Linked DNA regions of Homo sapiens: region 2 is linked to region 1. The links are contacts of gene promoters, found by promoter capture Hi-C in blood cells and fetal thymus (Javierre and others, 2016). All regions are on one chromosome and are shown on one strand. The core of a region is centred on a gene start or on the middle of the fragment in contact, and the rest is flanking DNA. Distances in the headings are between cores, read along the strand shown.

Region 1 (2,700 bases), core at 3-2,502:
AGGCAGGAGAATCCCTTGAGCTCTGGAGGTCGAGGCTGCAGTAAGCCATGATCTTGCCCATTGCACTCCAGCCTGGGCGACAGAGGAAGACCTTGTCTCTAAAAACCAAAACAAAGAAACTAAAAATAAGCATTCGGATTTGTTAGGGGGCGACAAGGGAGGCACTCCAGGATCTGTGGACTCCCCACTTTGTTCTGTCCTTGGAGAGCCCTGGAAGGTCTGAGAGGGGACGGGACCTGGTTTAAGGGGGTAGGGGAGAGGACCCTGGTCTAGGGGGTAAGGGACACAAATACCTAATCTGAGGGGTTTCGGGGGGACATGGCCCTGCCCTGGGGAATCTAAACTGGGAGGCATGGTCTGGCAGGCCCAATCCTGAAGGCTTTCTGAGGGCAATAAGGCCCTGCCTTTAAACAAATGAAAAAACGCCAGGCACGGTGGCTCACGCCTGTAATCCCAGCACTTTGGAAGGCTGAGGCGGGAGGATCACGAGGTCAGGAGATCGAGACCATCCTGGCTAACGCGGTGATACCCGTCTCTACTAAAAATACAAAAAATTAGCCAGGCGTGGTGGCGGGCGCCTGCAGTCCCAGCTACTCGGGAGGCTGAGGCAGGAGAATGGCGTGAACCCAGGAGGCGGAGCTTGCAGTGAGCCGAGATCGCGCCACTGCACTCCAGCCTGGGCAACAGAGCAAGACTCCGTCTCAAAAAAAACAAAAACAAAAACAAAAACAAAAACAAAAAAACAAATAAAAAAACAAAACCACATAACTGGATAAAGAAAAAACCATCTCCGACAGCCTTGGAGGCGGGATGAAGGCGTGGCCCGGTGGGCGTGACCAACAGCAAAAGTTTAAGCGTTATTGGCTGTATTCCTTAGTTGCTCACTCCAGAACTGCCCACTTATGGGCGGGGGTCACTCCTTCAGGCTTAACAGTCATTGGCTGAATTGGGCCAGAGAGGTCTCATTGGCTGAATTCCTGCACCGGCTCGTCGGAGGCGGGACCCAAAGTAGGCTAGGCCTACGGAAGCTGGGTCTTCTTGCTGTGAGGTCGCGTTCCCCAGTGTTACGGAGGGTCCTTGAGGCAGGAGTGAAAATTGGGTCTGGGGGTTAGTCCTGGGGTGGAGGTCTGGGCACGCCGGGTCGGACCCCCTCCATCTTCGGTTTTGCACACCCCGCTTTCCAGCGCGGAGTCGCGGCGGGTAGGGCGGCGTCGCGTGCGTGACGTCATCCAGCGGCGCCTCGCGAGGCTCCAGTGGCCTTGACCTCCCGCGGCGTGGGAGGCTGCGCGGCGATGCTGCAGTTCGTCCGGGCCGGGGCGCGGGCCTGGCTTCGGCCTACCGGCAGCCAGGTGAGGCCAGGGGCTGGAGGCGTGGTCGAAGGATGAAATTTGGGGGTGTCCAGGGGTCGTCTCTCACTTTCGCCCAACCCTTGCAGGGCCTGAGTTCCCTGGCGGAAGAGGCAGCGCGTGCGACCGAGAACCCGGAGCAGGTGGCGAGCGAGGGTAAGGCAACCGGGGTGGCTCCAGGAGGGGCGGCGACAGAGAGGTCTGACCCTTGACCCTAACCTCTGACCCCCGCAATCGCTCCAGGTCTCCCGGAGCCCGTGCTGCGCAAAGTCGAGCTCCCGGTACCCACTCATCGACGCCCAGTGCAGGCCTGGGTCGAGTCCTTGCGGGGCTTCGAGCAGGAGCGCGTGGGCCTGGCCGACCTGCACCCCGATGTTTTCGCCACCGCGCCCAGGTGAGCGAGGGCTGTAATGGTGAACTGAGTGGCAGAGGGATGAAGAGCGGGATTTCAGGAGTCACGATGACTTTGGGCTTGTACCCTTGGGAAAGTGCTGTATTTCTACAGCCTCCGTTTCTCCACCTGTCAAAGGGGAATGATGACAGTTTCCCCTGCTGTAGCGCTGTGTGAGATTGAAGCCTGAGAGGTGACATCATCTAAGGGTTAGGGAGACAGAATTCTGGAGCCCGACTGATTAGGTTCAAATCCTGCCTTCCCCTCTTGTCCCTCAGTGTCCCTATTTTGTCAGCGGTCGGGAGGTTGCTGTGATGAATAAATGACTTAATTCTGGCACATAATAAGTTCTATAGAAATGTTGATAATCTTTGTTAACTGGTTTTTGCAAATAAGAGCACTAAAAAGACTAAACCATTCCTCGGTGCCTGGAAGAGGCTGTTTGCATTTTAGTTACCCTGCTGTTCATAACATCTCTAAGAAAATGTAGGGGCCACCCTGGGCGCAGTGGCTCACGCCTGTAATCCCAGCACTTTGGGAGGCCAAGGCGGGCGGATCACGAGGTCAGGAGATCGAGACCATCCTGGCTAACATGGTGAAACCCCGTCTCTACTAAAAATACAAAAAAAAATTAGCCGGGCGTGGTGGCGGGCGTCTGTAGTCCCAGGTACTCTGGAGGCTGAGGCAAGAGAATGGCGTGAACCCGGGAGGCGGAGCTTGCAGTGAGCCGAGATCGCGCCACTGCACTCCATCCTGGGCAACACTCTGTCTCAAAAAAAAAAAAAAAAAAGAAAGAAAAGAAAATGTAGGGGCCAGTTACTGTGGCTCACATCTGTAATCCCAGCACATTGGGAGGCCGAGGTGGGCGGATCACTTGAAACCAGGAGTTGCAGACCAGCCTGGCCAACATGATGAAACCCCGTCTCTACCAAAAATACAAAAATTAGCCGGACGTCTTAGTGC
Region 2 (2,700 bases), core at 64-2,563, 260 kb after region 1:
ATGCCATTCCCTCATCCTGAAATGCTTTTCTTTTGGTCTTCCCAGGACAGAGGTCTCAGCTCACATCACAAGTCACTACCTCTGCAGAGAGGTCTTCCCTGACCACCATCACCATCTCTGTCGTTTGTCACTGGAATCATCTCCATTATTTCATCACCGAGTTCTTTTCTGTGTTCCCAAGCAGAACGTCAATTCCACGAGGGCACAGATTTTTTGTCTGTTTGTTCACATTGTGGGGTGTCGCTGCATAAATACATTTCCCCTGCATCTTTTCCGACTGCACCTTTGGCTGCATTTCCTACAAATTCCTTTATGTAAAAAGAACAAGTCTGTAAAACTTGGGAAGACAGTCGTGGGCCGAGGGTGTCAGTCTGCAGCCGGTTCTGATACCAGAGTCCGGGCGGCTGTGGGTGCACCGGGGCTGCCTGTGGAGCCGCTGGTGTCCAGCCCGTCGCGCTGGGGCGATGAGCGCTCCGAGCCGCTGAAGCTCCCATCAAGGCCCGGGGGCAGGCAGCGGCGCAGGCCCCCGGAAGCCTCAGCCGCGCTCGCCGACTGCTGGGAGCCACTCGGGTCTCTGCCGCAGGAGTGGCGTCCGCAGCAGACCAGGCGCAGGAGCGCGTGGCGCAGGTCGCGGTTGGTGAGCGTGTAGATGATGGGGTTCAGAAGTGAGTTGGCCATGGCCAGTCCCAGGAAGGGATCGGCCTGCAGGAGTACAGGACAGGTGCGCGCCGGGCACGCCACGTCGAGCAACAGCAGCAGGAAGAGGGGGCCCCAACATGCCACAAAGGCCAGGAGCACCACGCTGAGCGTGCGCAGCAAGGCCAGCGAGCGCGGCTTGCGACGCGCCCGGGTCGAGGTGGTCCCCGCAGTCCCGGGCCGTGCCGGCAGGCGCCGCGCGTTGGCGCGTACCTGGCAGTAGATGCGCGCGTAGAGTGCACAGATAGCGGCCAGGATGCCCACGAAGGCGAGCACGCAGAAGAGCACGTAGGCCTTGGCGTAGAGCGGCAAGACAGTGGAGCAAGCGTCCAGGCGACCCAGGCAATTCCAGCCCAGCGCTGGCAGGAGCCCGAGGAGCAGCGACACGCCCCAGGCCGCGGCTGCCATCGCCAGCGTGCGCCCCCGACTGGAGACGGGCGCGGGCCCCCTGCGCGCCATGGTGAGGCTGCGCTCCAGCGCGATGGCCAGGAGGCTCAGCACGGACGCAGTGAGTGCCACGAAGACGCCTCCCTCCCGTGCGAACCAGAGCGCGGGGGACAGTTTCAGCGTGAGCGGCCCCGACAGTAGGATGTTGGCGGCGTAGGCGGCGCCTGCCAGCAGATCCGACAACGTGAGGCTGCCCAGGAGCAGGAACATGGGAGCGTGGAAGCGCGGGTGGCGTCCGAGCACCAACAACACGGCTAGATTCTCTAGCACGATGAAGGCGCACACCGCCAGGCACACCACGGCGTCGGCGCGCAGGCCGGCACCCGGCTGGTAGCGCGCACCGCGGAGCTTGCCGGTGTAGTTGTAATGCAGGACGATGACCTCGCTCACCGGCGCCGGCCGCAGCAGCCCCGACTCCATGGGCCGCGCGCCCCAAGGCTGTTGGAGAGGCAAGATACGGTGTCAGGCCGCGGTCCCCGTAAGCACGCTCGCAGCAGCCGGCTAAGTCGTGGGAAAGGGGCCCTACCCACTGACCATCACCCCCTATACATGGTGTCCAAGGGGGAGTTCAGGATGGAGGGATAGAGTCCGTGGAGACAGACATACACACAAATAATATCACGAGGGAACAAGGTGACATAGTCCCAAAAAAAGGGACATTAATAACACATGAATGGCTGGGCGCGGTGGTTCACACATGGCTGGGCGCGGTGGCTCAGGCCTGTAATCCCCGCCTGTAATCCCCCCAGGCTCAGGCCTGAGGCAGTGGCTCAGGCCTGGGAGGCCAAGGGGGGCAGATCACGAGGTCAGGAGATCGAGACCATCCTGGCTAACACGGTGAACCCCTCCGTCTCTGCTAAAAACACAAAAAATTAGCCAGGCATGGTGGCACGTGCCTGTAGTCCCAGCTACTCCAGAGGCTGAGGCAGAAGAATCATTTGAACCCAGGAGGCGGAGGTTGCAGTGAGCCGAGATCGCATCACTGCACTCCAACCTAGGTGGCAGAGCGAGACTCTGTCTCAAAACACCCCCCCTCCCCACCAAACACACACACGGCTGGGTGTGGTGGCTCACTCCTGTAATTCCAGCACTTTGGGAGGCTGAGGCGGGAGGATTGTTTGAGGCCCAGGAGTTCGAGATTAGCCTGGACAACATAGGAGAACCCCGTTTCTACAAAAATTAGCCGGGACGTGTTGGTGTATGCCTATAGTCCAAGCTACTCAGTGGAGTCCCAGCTGAGGTGAGAGGATCACTTGAGCCCGCGGGGTCAAGGCTGCAGTCAGTGAGCATTGATTGTGCCACTGTACTCCAGCCAGGACAACAGAGCAAGACTTTGTCTCAAACACACACACACAAACACACAAGCAGGGAGTTCCAGAGACGTAACAGTAAACACACAGAACGCACACAAACGCAACACACACAGAAAGAGACACACAAATACAGCGACACACTACAAGGGCAAAACACACAGTCACACACTATCAGGGAAACTAAAAAATACATCATACAGGAACAGAGTGACGCAGGCAGAAAAACACAGCGACCAAAATTCAG

What was found. The method cuts DNA at HindIII sites, captures the fragments that hold promoters and counts their contacts. A CHiCAGO score of 5 or more calls a contact.
Region 2: a fragment that was not itself captured here is called in contact with the fragment with the promoter of MRPL4 in region 1 in 2 of 17 cell types (naive B cells and activated CD4 T cells); the score reaches 5.2 in naive B cells.

What each region holds. Positions count from the first base shown.
Region 1 is chr19:10,250,962-10,253,661 of GRCh38, forward strand. It overlaps MRPL4 (mitochondrial ribosomal protein L4), which reads left to right and starts at 1,253. Exons shown (of 9, transcript NM_015956.3): 1 at 1,253-1,349; 2 at 1,436-1,502; 3 at 1,590-1,740. The coding sequence starts at 1,293. RefSeq lists enhancers at 608-1,181, 636-785, 916-1,325, 1,182-1,755. The HindIII fragment of the contact is 20,723 bases long and covers 1-2,700 here.
Region 2 is chr19:10,513,449-10,516,148 of GRCh38, forward strand. S1PR5 (sphingosine-1-phosphate receptor 5) reads right to left here. Exons shown (of 2, transcript NM_030760.5): 2 at 1-1,581. The coding sequence starts at 1,563. The coding sequence ends at 367. Among named protein-coding and RNA genes, the nearest start is that of S1PR5, 2.6 kb to the right of the region's middle. RefSeq lists enhancers at 1,289-1,882, 1,883-2,476. The HindIII fragment of the contact is 3,006 bases long and covers 1-2,700 here.